Regions from separate parts of the Homo sapiens genome. Here all the other regions are linked to region 4. Evidence: promoter capture Hi-C in 16 types of primary human blood cells and fetal thymus (Javierre and others, 2016). All regions are on one chromosome and are shown on one strand. The core of a region is centred on a gene start or on the middle of the fragment in contact, and the rest is flanking DNA. Distances in the headings are between cores, read along the strand shown.

Region 1 (2,701 bases), core at 39-2,538, 190 kb after region 4:
AGGCCTTAATTCTATTAACTCTTTGTGTCACTTAACAGCTTTAACTGTGGAGAAAATTGGCATGATCCTGTTAAATGTAAGGTGAGTTTGTCTGACATTTCAATTTTTAAATAATGGCACACTTCTAAGACTTAGTGACTAAAAATCATAGCTGATGATTTTGTTATCTATCTATTGATAGATTTTTTTTTATCCTTTTAATTTCAGATGATCATTACATGTATTCAGAGGTAATTCCTTAGGATAAGCCAAGTCAGCTCCTGATTGTTATTAGGATAACCATGGCTAAGGCACCTCTTTGTCAGGCTTTGTAATTAGGGGAATACACACCTTGCAGTTGGGCTTCTCTTCAAGCTCTAGGTTCCCCACTCAGCTTCTGCCAAAGAAAATCCTGCTTTGGTTGATTTTATATATACTGGACATTGTAGCTATGGGATTTCCCTGGCTTAAGAGGATGTGAGCCTAGTGATAATCTTATTCATTGGCTTTTACATTTAAGCTTGACTATAGTTAAGTGCTAAAGTAATTTGCTATTTTTAAAAGTCTTTTGTTGTATCCTAACCGTTGTTATTTTCAAACAGTGGTTAAAGAAATGGATTAAAAAGTGTGATGATGACAGTGAAACCTCCAATTGGATTGCAGCCAACACAAAGGTTGGTGTTTTCCTTCAGTAACTCTTGGTAATAAAAATGATAAGGATTGGTACTTTGGCATTAGCAAAAGCAATGAGGTGACCTACTTACAGGCTTTGTTTCATCTTTTTCTCCATTGAGTCTTTTTTTTTTTTTCCCAGAATGTTTGCCTGTTATTTCCTTTTTCTCTTTGAGTTTATTTTAGAGTATTGAGTACTGTAGTACAGCATCCACAGTTCTCTGCCTTAGGTTTCTTCTACTGGAAAAAAAATTAGTGTTCTGTAGAGGAAAAAGCTGATAATTTTTCAAGTGTGGGATTTGTGCTTGGCTGCCATTTAGTATACAAATGCATTGGAGTTTACTCCGCCTAGCTTGGTTCTGTTAGGCTAATTTACATTTTTGTTTCTAATTTTTTGTTTTGAAGTACATTGCTCTTGATACTAGTTTCAAAATTCAATTTCAAAATTCACTTTCTTAACCCCAGACAAATGTCTTAGAAGTGTTTAAATCTTGAGTACCCTTCTCCTCGATCACTAATCTAATGAGCAAGCATTTGAATGCCAACCGTGTACCCAGCTAGTCTTTTAATACAAAGTCGTATTATCCATCCTTTATGTAATTCAGTCCTATCCTATCCCCATAGTGAGTGACTTGGGTAATGAATGGTAGGTTGGTTCATGGGCTATTCATTTTTAGTATTATTTTGTACATGTAAAGATGATGCTTTAAAGAATGCTGAGTTGTTTGACCCATAGTATATAAAGCTATCTTTGAACTGTTGCCTCAGTCATCACAGGACAATGAGATTAAGAAGTGTGTAAACAATGAAGGCCGACGCAGGTTGTCTGTGTGTGTTTAAATATACATCTTACATACTTATATATAAAACATGAATTTATATTTCTGTCTCCCAGAAAGTAGTGAAACAGTGAATCTTGCCACATAAAACAAATGCCCAAGTCTTTAAGGAATATATGGTAGAAATTAATATTTTTTGTTCCCTCCAAAACCATCACGATAAGCATAACTCACGTCAATCAAAGAAAACCTTACTATAAATATACTGTAATGTCAGAAAGTGGTTACTTGTTTTGTTATTAAAAAAAAATTCTTAGCCAAGCATTCTTTTTTTGAAAATTGAAGATTTTCCCACAAGAAATGTTCCTTAAGTCCCAGAATTCTTTAATATGCTCTGAAAAACTAATATTTAGAATAAGGCAATTATATTTTCACTAAATTGTTTAATTAAATGGTAGCCTTTTTTCTACATCTAGAGAAATTCCTACTTGTAAGCCCCAAAGATGTTTAAAATAGGGAGTACAGGCTTGAATATGTTTGGCTTAGTTTAGATTGTAGATTACCAAGGAAGAATGGCAATTTGTAAAACAAATTTAGCTGCTCAGTATTTTTGAGAGAAAACTGAAGAGTTTTTCTCTTGAGGTTTTAGAAGCTTTTAAGATTATTAGCTCCCTAAACAGATATGCATATTGTCAGTGATATCCTAACATTTTGGAGGTTTAATACTATTAGGTTAATTATAACCAAGAAATGTAGAATGTAGAATGACGCATATTTTATGCCTGAAATTTGCTTGTTTGGAAAAAATGTAAAATTTCTTATGTGGGTGATTTCAAAAATTTGATTTGAAATATATAATTAAAAAGTTGCTATATTGGCCTATTTTAAATTGCTATCATTGATGGGCAGCATAGTCAATTTCACAAAGAAGGCCAAATTGTGCAAATACTAATATAGTGGGTGATCCCTCCTTGGGAGAGTTACAAACCTCAATCACAAATGCAAAAACAAAAAATCCATAGGCCTACAGAGCAGTAATTTTGGCTTACTAGCAACCAAGAATATGATATGAGGCCAGGTGCAGTGGCTCACACCTGTAATCCTAACACTTTGGGAGGCCGAGGTAGGCAGATTGCTTGAGCTTGAGAGATTGAGACCAACCTGGGCAACATGGTGAAACCCCACCTCAACAAAAAATTCAAAAATTAGCCGAGCATGGTGGCATGCACCTGTAGTCCCACTACTTGGGAGACTGAGGCAGGAGGATGACT
Region 2 (2,700 bases), core at 106-2,605, 170 kb after region 4:
CTATTTTATTGTCTTTAACAGATTCTCCTTGCCAGTTGACATTTATATAGTGCTTACAGTTAAATGTTTCTGTGAGGTAATACTAAGACCCAGGTTTTACAAGGTTTCCTTACTTCTTGGCGTTTTTCCTCCTGCCCTATCATAGACAGTTCCTTCTTAACTTAAATCTTAACTCTGATTTGAGTACTGAAGCTTGGCTGCTTCCAAATATCCACTATAACTTTCTCGCTGTTCTTAATATGGTCTAACAATCTCAACAAACTAGAATTCAAAATCATGACTTGAGATTTACAGTGTAAATTTTTGTTTTGTACTTGTAACTGATGATGGAGAAACCTATTCATTGAACACACTAGGCACTATTCTAAGAAACAATGGAGAATAAATACATAATTCCTAACCAGATAATTTGCAGGTTAGTTGGGTAGATAAGTAGTAAGGTGACATATTCAGAAAGAGTGGTAAGTGCTTTGGTAGGGCAAATATAAGATACGATACTGTGGGAACGTGTTGGAGGGATACCTAACCCAGTTTTTGATCAGGCAGGACTTACCACAGAAATCTGAACTAACATCTGAAGGCATGGTAGTTAGGCTAAGGAGGAAAATGTAGCAAGTCCAAGGAAGAGAGAATGTACTTTCAAGAACTGGGGGATGGTAAATAGTACTAAAAGATTCAGAGAAAAGATTTAAAAAGTTAATTTGAAATGAAATGAAGGAGTGAGGTAGGATGGGAAACCAGACTTCATGGGCTAAAGAGTCACTGACTTGAAGGTGGGAAAGGAAATGGAAGCAATAAATGTAATGAAATTACTCTTTTACAAGAAATTTCACTATGCAAGTGATAGGATAAGATAGCAAAAGGAACAACATGGGTTGGCAAGTAAGGTAAGGCATTATGGAAACTGCTAAGTGTTCCGAAAAGTATCATGACAAAACTAGGATGTCCTTTCCTCATAATTTTTAGACTCATATAGAAGGATAATTTTAACCTCTTCAGTTTTGGAAGTAAATGTCACCTGAAACTCTTCATAAAGTTTTATTATTGGATGAGTGAGTTCTTCACTTACATTGTATAACTCCCACATTTTACTACTCTCCAAGCATTTGTACTTTTTTATTATATATATCTTCAGTATCTTTATCCTTCCAGAAAGCAATTTTTGCTTTATGCAGTGTCACATGCACATTTTAAAATAAGTGCTTTTGATAGCTTAGTTTACAACCCTTTGGAGTTAACTGTCCTGAGTGGCTGCTTCTTTCAAAACAATGTCCTGAGACATTGGAGCACTTTGTAAATTCATAGATTCCAACTTAATGTTTTAGGTTAAAGTAGTTAAGATAATAGCTGTACTGGCCCACCACTGTGCTAGGAAATGTAGCTTCGACTACAGCGTCTCTCTCTCTCTTTTTTTTTTTTTTTTTGAGGCAGAGCCTTGCTCTGTCGCCCAGGCTGGAGTGCAGTGGCATGTTCTCGGCTCACTGCAACCTCCACCCCGCAGTTTCAAGCGATTCTCCTGCCTCAGCCTCCCGAGTAGCTGGGATTACAGCCGCCCACCACCACACCTGTCTAATTTTTGTATTTTTAGTAGACATGGGGTTCCACCATGTTGTCCAGGCTGGTCTCCAACTCCTGACTTAAGGTGATCCACCCACCTTGACCTCCCAAAGTGCTGGGATTACAGGAGTGAGCCGCCACGGCCAGCCAGTGTCTCATTTTTATGAAGTAAATAATTTGTATTTTCTAAGAATAAGATATGTGAAGTAGGTAAAGGCAGAGTTGAAATTGTGAGGAAGGGTGGTCCACCATCCCGTCCCCCATTCCTGAAGCCCCTCTGTGGAATCTTGGTGCTGCTGGAAACTGCTTGAAAATACCTACGTCCCACCCTATTTTCCTTTTAACACATTACATTTTACACACAAGGGAACCGATTCCCAGGTCATTTGTTCAATTTTTATAAACAAAGGGGTTTCAATTTTAGAGGTTATATGGACAACTTATTATGGAAGAAAGATTCTTAATTTTCTTACTGCTATTTGACATTAGTTGCTGTGTATGTAAAGTGATGCAGATAAATGAAACCTTTAAGAGTGTATTCTTAAGTTTCTTTAAGTCCATTAATTTCTTTTGTAGATAATATTTCATGTATTTTTCGTGTACTCTCTTGATCGGATGTATTTGTGATATAAACAGGGATAAGTTTAGTGAATAGATAATATGATCCCCTGGGACAGGGGAAAGCCCAGGGAGCCATGTAGGTGAACCTAGCTCAAGGTTATGAGGAAACGAATATATCAGAGGAGGGAGAGGGAAAGGGAAGTAAGACAGACAGGAAGATATCTGCGATAATAATATGTTCCTCGAAAGCACAATGAATATGTATCTTTAGACTACAGATTTGTGTCTTGGTTTTTGGTGTTTTTATTTTTTTGCTCTATCTTTAGACATCCATGTATGATTTATTTTTCTAACTTGTTTAATCTTGTTATCTGATTAGAGAAGTTATTTAAAAAGAATAAAAAGCTTTTATCTGTGTGCTGAAGTTGTAACAAGGTTGAGAGAGGTGCATCTCACACGAGTGTGATTACATTTATGAACTATCTTTTTATCTTAAAATGAGCTCTAGACTAGAAGTCAAAAAAGGTTGAGACTTAAAGTGATCACTTAGTAACCATTGTGACCGTTGATCTCTGTTAAGGA
Region 3 (2,750 bases), core at 217-2,716, 160 kb after region 4:
TGGACAAGGAAGGGCAGAAGTGATATGGGAACCTGGGTATTTAAGGCTCAGAAAACAAAACTAAGTGGGGCACAAAGTTTAAGGAATATATGTTGAACAATTATGAGATTGAATGTCTGGAGTATGCGAAGAATAGAGGGGAAATGGTTGGAAATGTTTAATGCACGTTATAAGGGCCTTGAATTTTAAGTAAGTGAATTTGGAATTTTTCTGTCTTTATTGGGAAGCCCTTGAACGTTGTTTTATGGAGAAATAGTGATGGAAAAGCATTATTTCAGAAAAAAATCTAGTAATAAATGAGCTGTTTTAACTATCCAGGTAAAAGGAAAATATTGTCCTGACTTACAATAGTGACAGCTAAATTGATAGCAGAGGGTAGATGGAAAGAGAAGTAAAATTAGTTTTAACTGAGACAAAATATAGGAGACTCTGGGAAACTTCTGGTAATTTTGACCGTTCCTTTCACTAAATACACTAGAAGAGGCTAGGTGAAATACTGAAACATGTTTGAAAAGTAAGATTATCAAATAATTAGTAAGATAGGAAATAGAGGTTCAAGGTTGAGAGTTTGGGAATCAAGGGAAATTTAGAGAAACAAGCTTCCAGTCCTTGTTGCTCTAGCAGTGTATGTTGATCCAGAAGAGGTAGCTAAGAGACTTAGCTGTGAGTTTTGTTTGCCCTTTGTTAGTAGAGGGGGAAGTTGGAATATTAGGTCTACTAAGAGCGAAAATTGAATACACTAGCTCCTTAAAGACTGAAGATGATCTTCATGTCTTTTGGGTAGTCCAGAAAACCTTAAACCTTGAACTTGGGTTAAGATAGCCCCCGTATATAACAGAAACAAACGTAAATCTTCTCTAGGGAAATAACATTATTTAAGACCTTAAACTATTTTCTCAAATTATTTTTCTAATTAAAACATAACAACCTGGAACTTAAGATACTGGAATTGTCAGACCTAGACCAAAATGAGTATGCTATCACCAGGGAGCTGTCATTCAGATTTGGAAAAAAATCAGAATTTTTATAACTAAACAAAATAAGCAAAATTAACTTTGTGACATAGTTTAACAGCAGACTGGACAAAGCTGAAGAGAGTTTAGTGTATTTGAAAATCAAACAATGATCCAGAATTAAGTATATCCATTAAAAGATGGAAAATACAGAAGAGATTAAGAAATACAGAGGATATAATGAGAAGGTCTCATTGAGTTTTAGAAAGAGAGGAGAGAATGTGGCAGAGGCAGTATTTTAAGATAAAAATGACTGAGAATTTTGCAGATTGGTAAAAGACCCAAATGTCATAGATTGAAGAAACATAACAGTTCCCATGTGTGATAGCTACTTGTTTCACTGATCCTAAGATACACAGTTTTTCACATTTTAACATCTGAAATCTGGATGCATCTTTCAATTATTGACACCTTACAGTCCAAAAAGATTGAAATTTTGACTCGTGAAAAATTTTCCATGTCAACTTCTGTTAAGATCATGAAATTTCAGCACGAAAGCATTTTAGATTTTATGAAATATGGTAAAAAGAAATCCACATTTTTATTTATTTATTTATTTATTTATTTATTGAAACACAGTTTCATTCTGTTGTCCAGGCTGGAGTGCAGTGGCACAGTCTCAGCTCAGTGCAGCTTGCACCTCCCGGGTTCAAGGCATTCTAGGGCCTCAGCTTTCTGAGTACCTGGAATTACAGGCACGAGCCACTAGGCCTGGTTAACTTTAGTATTTTTAGTAGAGATGGGGTTTCGCCACGTTGGCCAGGCTGGTCTCGAACTCCTGACCTCAGGTGATGTGCCTGCCTCAGCCTCCCAAAGTGCTGGTATTATAGGGGTGAGCCACTGGGCCTGACCAGAAATCCACATTTAAAAACATCTTAGTAAAACTACAAAATCAGCAAAAATAAAAAATCTAAATCAATGAGATACAAGAAAGGCTGCTTTCAAAAGAGTGAAAGTATAGGTATAATAATATTCTAGAGCACAGCTCAACAGCAACAGTGAAAGTGATAGTAAGATGATACCTCAGTCTTTTGAAAGAAAATAAACCTTACCTAGAATACTATGTTCATGGAAAATATATTCATAAACAGTATGTTTTAATTAATATAAATGGTTTTATGTTGTACCTAGCTTTTGTATCTTTTTAAAGCCAACCAACATTTTGTTCTGCCAGTGTTGATTGAAGTTTCAAATACTCATAATTGTTATTTAAGCAACTATTTGTCTGTTAAAGGGAAAAATCTTGCAGAATGTTGTACTTTGGAATTTATAACCTTAAATGCATAATGAGCTAAGCATTCATCTTAAAAGTCTCAAGTAATAAGCTTAGAGGTCTCAAGTTAGGAAAAGAACAACAAAATAAATATAGGGAAAATACAAGGAAAGAAATAAAGAACAGAATATAATAAAATAGAAAACATGCAGTAGAAGGGATCAAGAAGCCGTAAGATTTTTTTTTTTTTTTAAGACTGATAACGTTGACACTTTGATGAGGTTAGGAAAAAGAGAGATCCTAAATAACCAGTATTAGGAATGAAAACAGAGTATCACTAGGATCTTGTGGATGGTTTAAAAAAAAACTCTTAAAATTATGGACAACTATTCAAACTTGATAGACGAAATGGGTAGATTCCTAGAAATAGGCAATTTCCCAAAACTGACATAAGAAATAGTAAACCTGTATCCTTATTAAGTATAAAGAAATGAAATCCATAATTTAAAATGTTCTTATAAAGA
Region 4 (2,700 bases), core at 34-2,533:
TACAATTTTCAGTACTGATTACATAGCTGCCTAAAAGAAAACTGTTAGCCCCTTCCATTTTATGTGAAACCAATGTCTAAAGCGCTCTTGACTCTTCAACCCCACATTTTCCCCACCCTCATCCCTCCTCAATCCCCAGCCCCCACTCATCACATCCACTAGACCTGAACTTTGAACTCAATCATAATTCTTTGTGCCTCTGCTCAAGCCCTTCTTCCTGCCTGGAATACCCTCTTTTCAGTCCCGGCTAATTACATCTACCATCCCATTCCAAGTGGCCGCTGGAAACTCACTTCCTTATGTTCTATGATTTCTTTCACAATTTACACTTTTTTTGTTTTGTTTTGTTTTGTTTGGGGGGGGGGGTTGTTTTTCTGAGAGGGAGTCTTGCTCTGTTGCCCAGGCTGGAGTGCAGTGGCGCGATCTCAGCTCACCACAACCTCCACCTCATGGGTTCAACCGATTCTCCTGCCTCAGCATCCCGAGTAGCTGGGACTACAGGCGCGCGCCGCCACGCCTGGCTAATTTTTTGTGTTTTTGGTAGAGACGGGGTTTCACTATGTTGGCCGGGCTGGTCTCGAACTCCTGACCTCGTGATCCGCCCGCCAAACATTCTATGTGCCAGAAACTTGTATGTAACTTTGCATAGTTCTTGTATTATGTCTCCCCAATTTTGAGTGTTTTCTCTGGTCTCTACTCAGCCCTTGCTCACAGTCTCACTAGGACCCTGGCTAGCTTGAACACGGTCAGAAGGATCACCTTAGATTTCTGCTGGCACAGTATTTTCCATAAATTAATCTCCTGATTGAACCGTAGTCCTATAGTAGTTATCTTTGGATGAAAACCTAATGCAGCTCGAGGAGGAAGTGGAGTGCCTGTGATCAGAGGGCTGGACAAAAGCCCATAGGGCGTCTCTGGAGCCCTGGGGGAACTGTCCCCAGGCAGGCACTCTCAGGGCCCAGGAACAGGGCGGGACAAGTCCGACTCACCTGTGAGGTAAGGACGGGGCCAAGACCCGGAACCGAAAAGCAGGTCACGATAGCGCTGGAAGGCCTCGTCGAGGACTGAGCAGCCGGGCTGCGCGGCCGAGCTGACATCGTACTGGAATTGAAAGTTGTTCGGGTAAAGGACGTAGCGCTGGTCGGAGGTTTGGAAGTTCTGAGGCCAGGGCCAGAGGGCCGTCGCCCGTCCTGCGAACGCTGCCGCCAGCAGCAGCGAAAACCAAAGCCTGGAGCTTGTCATGGCCCGCTGGTCTCCCCTCTCGGAGGGGGCTGGCCACGTGAGACCCTGGTCAGGTGAGCGGCGCCCCCGTGACTTATCGGCGAATCACGTGACCAGAGGCGGCTCTGCGCCTGCGACCCCAGGAGGACCCACACCCTGCCCTTTCACTTCCGGCCTGGACCTGAGGCTCCTGCTACGTGCAGCGGATTGTGCCGGGCGTCGGCAACTGCTCGGCTCGCCAGACTGTTCACGGGCCCAGTAGAGCAGTAAATAACCGGCCACCCCTGCGGCCGTGCCGGCCGTGATGGAACTAGACAGCTCACCCGACTCGAGAAGAACGGGGTGGGGAGGCGAGGACGCAGGGCGACCTGGAGAAGAAAGTTTCCCAGATGGCTCTAGGGTGAATCTTGAATGTTGTGATGCAGCTCGCCAGGCCTACGGGGAGGTAAAGGACTTGCCAGGCTGAAGTAACTTCAGAAGCAGAAAAACGGAGGATTAAAACCACAAGTCGTTGTGATGTGAAATTTCGTGGGGCAAGAAAGGGCCGGAAGTAGGTAGTCTGCACGGCTCTGCTAGAGAGAGGATCACAAGATCACACAAATGTGATCTACTTATGACTGGAAAAAATGTGTACTTTCAGAGCCAGCTTGAGGCATTCCATTGCCTCCAATATGAGCTCTTCCCTTCAAGATTGACTATAAATCTCTTAGTTACAACTCACATCCCCTTTCCCCAGACAAAACCCCACATAGCCCGGTGTGTATTTACTGAAAGCAGTAAGATATTGCTGGGGCTTTGGGTGCAAGATGGAGAGTGCTCAGAGATAATGACAGGGGCCTGGTCCTGCAGGGCCTTACGTAGAAAGTCAAGGAATTTATTCTCTGAGCAATTGAAAATCATCCCGAAAGATCTGCATTTTAGAAATACCATGTTGAGTAGTTGCATAAGAAACCAGTTAGGAGGCCCCTTTTTATTGGAGGTAGAGAATAATGAGAGACTGAACTACAGAAGTGGGGAAGGAAGACAGCTGTAGATCCAAGAAATAGTATCCGGAAGAGAGGCTTGAGAAGTGATCAAGGAGAATTCCACAGTTATCAGAGACCCTGTCTTCCTTGTTCACCACTATATTACCAGAACATAATACAAATAATGCTATTGTTATTGGGTGGCATTATTTGGTTAGTAGGTACTTTTTAAAATTTTTAAATTTAATTTTAGTATTAAAATACATGTAAAGATCAGGAAAATGAACTTTTAAAAATAAAGGGCTTTCACTGGGCATGATAACACATCCCTGTAGTCCCAGCTACTCCCAGCTATTCAGGAGGCTGAGGCGGCAGGATCACTTGAACCAAGGAGTTCAAGTTTAGCCTGGGCAGTATAGTGAAACCCTTTCTCAAAAACAAATAAAGGGCTACTGAAATAATGATAATTTATATTCAGGTCGTAGGTACCTAATTACTAGTTACACATACATGG
Region 5 (2,700 bases), core at 139-2,638, 230 kb after region 4:
TTAAAAATGTAAAAACTCAACTGTAGCTCCTTGTTTATACATATATTGGGGGTGTTGAAAAGTTACCGATGCCTGATTCCTCTTCTATGTCCTCAGCCCCCACCATAAAAATAGATAAATGCCATTTTTTTTGTATGCCCAGCACAGCTATATGATTTGAATAATCTTGATAAGCAGGGTCACATTTGAGGAGATTTGCTAAGGGAAATGAAGATCCATCTGTGACACAAGAAACATGTTCTATGTGATTTCTGGGATTTTCCTGTGAACATACTTCTTGTTTGTTTGTTTTACAGTGGATCTCACTCTGTCACCCAGGCTGGAGTTCAGTGGTGCAATCATAGCTCACTGCAACCTTGAGCTCCTGGGCTCAGGAGAGCCTCTCTCCTCAGTCTCCCAAGTAGCTAGGACTACAGACACATGCCATCATGCCAGGCTCATTTTAAAATTTTTTGTAGAGACGGGTCTCACTATGTTGCTCAGGCTGGTATTGAACTCCTGGGCTCAAGCAATCCTCCTGCCTCAGCATCTCAAAGTGTTGGGATTACAGGTGTGAACCATAGTATCCAACCTATTATGTTTTTTTAAAAAGAGATTGTTCTAATTATGTATATAATTAAAGTACATTAGGTTTAGTGATTGCAATTTGAGAAACCAATGTCCTTTCTTATTGAAAAAGGCCCTGGTACAGAAAGTGTTCTATCTTCCTCACAAGATCTGAGGTCAAAGGAGAGATTTTGAAACATTATAGCAATGGCTTCTAGTTATTGAATAAAGAATGTCATTTGCTCCTCACAGGACCCCTTTCAGGGAGATTTCACATATTGGGAAACAGCCTCATGAGCTTTCTACAAACATCTTTGTCCTTAAGTCTTCCCATTTCAGTAATTGGCTGTACCACTCATCCAGCAGCTTTCAAAGTAAGAAACCTGGCAATCTTCCTTTAACATCCATTTCCCTTTCCCTCATTCCCCCATATCCAATCATGTGTATTGGAGGTTTTTCCACCTCTAAACTTGAGAACCCATTTACTTTTTCTCCATCTCCTTTGCCATCACACTAGTCCAAGTGAAGTGTTTCATCATCTCATTTGCAGCATCCTTTAGTTTACCCTAGATTATCAATTTTTGTCCCCCTCCCAATTCAGTCTCTACTCATGAGCTAACATGAGTTTATTAAGTGTTCATTCTGACCATGCCATTCCTTGCTCAAAATTCTCTAGTGCCTTCCCAATGCCCTTAAAATAAAATTCCTCATATGGCCTTTGTGGATCTGCACTCCTACCTCTTCTCCTATTGCAACCAACCCTGTTACCTTTTTCTCTTTTCACACTGGTCTTCATTCTGTGCTGCAAACTGGCTGAGATTCTTCCATCCTCAGGGCCTTTGCACAAGTTCTTCCTTTGCCTTAGAATTCTTTCCTGGCCTGCACATGTCTTCATCCCCTTTCCCTAAGCTAATGCCTTACCCTTTAGGTCTCATTTTAAACATCTCTTACCCAGGAAAAATTTCCCTGTCCAAACAAGTCTAGATTGGCTCCCCATTGTTTGTTCTAACTGTTCTATATTTCTCCTTCTTAGCATTTATCACAATTCTTGGTATGTTGTGCTTTTCACTTTCTTAGTCGCTATTATTGGAGTAGGTAATACATCCATATAGTACAAAATTCAAAATGTATTAAAGGTATAGAGTAAAAAGTCTTCTCTTCCCTGTCCCCCCGCTACCCAGTTCTCCTCTTTAGAACCACTTTTAGCATTTTGAATATCCTTCCAGAAATATTTTCTAAGTATACAAGCAATTATGTATATAATATTCCTCTTTATTTTTGCCTTTTTATTAATACAGATACTATATGCATTTTCTGCACTTTATCTGTTAATAATATATCTTGGCAATTATTCAATATTAATATGTAAATAGTTGCCTCTTTCTTTTTCATGCGCCATATAATATGGACTTATAATTTATTTAACCTCTATCTAGGTTGGTTTTAGGCATTGGTTATTACAAATAATGCTGCATTGAATACCTTTGTATGTAAAGTCATTTCCCACATCTATGCCTATAGAATAAATTACTAGAATTGAAATAATTCAGTTAAAGATTATGTGCATTTTTAATTTTGGTAGTTATTGCCAAACTGCTCTCAATGGAAGTTTTATGAATTCCCACTAGTGAATGCATTTGTCCTCACAATTATGTCAGTGAAATTTTTGTTCTTTGCCAATGCAAGAAATGGAAAGTATCTCTTGGAAACTAATTTGCATGTTTTTTTTCCTTGCACAGTTATATTTTCATATGTTAAAGAGCCATTTGTATTTCTTGGTGAATTGTTCATAAACTTTGCTTACTTATTATCTAATGTCTGACTAATTTGCTACACTCTAAATTCCCAATTCATACTTAAGTCTCGCCCTTGCAATTTAGATGTACAATCTGCCTCTTCAGTGGTTTCCACACCAAAAAATCCACAGGCTCCTGAATTTTATATGGGCCTAAGAGTCTTACTGAAAATTGGAAGTCTTAAGGTGTAGTCTATTTTATGCAGTGTGAGGCCTTTCATGCTCTGAAATGTACCACTCTTGACTGACTTTTTCTTCTTCACCCTGTCCGGCACTGTGCCCTTATTAGCCAGAGAAATGTTCCCCCTTTCTCCCAGGAAACGTTCTGACCTTACCCTGGTCCCTCAAGGACTCTCCTT

What was found. The method cuts DNA at HindIII sites, captures the fragments that hold promoters and counts their contacts. A CHiCAGO score of 5 or more calls a contact.
Region 1: a contact is called between a fragment that was not itself captured here and the fragment with the promoter of HEXA in region 4, in 13 of 17 cell types (M0 macrophages, M1 macrophages, monocytes and 10 more). The highest score is 11.9, in M0 macrophages.
Region 2: a fragment that was not itself captured here is called in contact with the fragment with the promoter of HEXA in region 4 in 9 of 17 cell types (M0 macrophages, M1 macrophages, monocytes and 6 more); the score reaches 7.5 in M0 macrophages.
Region 3: a contact is called between a fragment that was not itself captured here and the fragment with the promoter of HEXA in region 4, in 14 of 17 cell types (naive CD4 T cells, total B cells, naive CD8 T cells and 11 more). The highest score is 11.3, in naive CD4 T cells.
Region 5: a contact is called between a fragment that was not itself captured here and the fragment with the promoter of HEXA in region 4, in 5 of 17 cell types (M2 macrophages, naive CD8 T cells, M1 macrophages and 2 more). The highest score is 6.2, in M2 macrophages.

Annotation. Positions count from the first base shown.
Region 1 is chr15:72,566,525-72,569,225 of GRCh38, forward strand. It overlaps ARIH1 (ariadne RBR E3 ubiquitin protein ligase 1), which reads left to right. Exons shown (of 14, transcript NM_005744.5): 8 at 39-81; 9 at 582-653. Among named protein-coding and RNA genes, the nearest start is that of MIR630, 19 kb to the right of the region's middle. The HindIII fragment of the contact is 1,583 bases long and covers 498-2,080 here.
Region 2 is chr15:72,547,682-72,550,381 of GRCh38, forward strand. All of the region lies in intron 3 of ARIH1 (ariadne RBR E3 ubiquitin protein ligase 1), which reads left to right. Among named protein-coding and RNA genes, the nearest start is that of MIR630, 38 kb to the right of the region's middle. The HindIII fragment of the contact is 2,331 bases long and covers 191-2,521 here.
Region 3 is chr15:72,529,703-72,532,452 of GRCh38, forward strand. All of the region lies in intron 2 of ARIH1 (ariadne RBR E3 ubiquitin protein ligase 1), which reads left to right. Among named protein-coding and RNA genes, the nearest start is that of MIR630, 56 kb to the right of the region's middle. The HindIII fragment of the contact is 1,739 bases long and covers 598-2,336 here.
Region 4 is chr15:72,374,731-72,377,430 of GRCh38, forward strand. HEXA (hexosaminidase subunit alpha) reads right to left here and starts at 1,284. Exons shown (of 14, transcript NM_000520.6): 1 at 990-1,284. The coding sequence starts at 1,242. It overlaps HEXA-AS1 (HEXA antisense RNA 1), which reads left to right and starts at 1,383. Exons shown (of 1, transcript NR_027262.1): 1 at 1,383-2,700. RefSeq lists enhancers at 520-1,075, 1,076-1,632, 1,524-1,663, 1,994-2,043. The HindIII fragment of the contact is 8,315 bases long and covers 1-2,700 here.
Region 5 is chr15:72,600,111-72,602,810 of GRCh38, forward strand. ARIH1 (ariadne RBR E3 ubiquitin protein ligase 1) reads left to right here. Exons shown (of 14, transcript NM_005744.5): 14 at 1-2,700. Among named protein-coding and RNA genes, the nearest start is that of MIR630, 14 kb to the left of the region's middle. The HindIII fragment of the contact is 3,132 bases long and covers 1-2,700 here.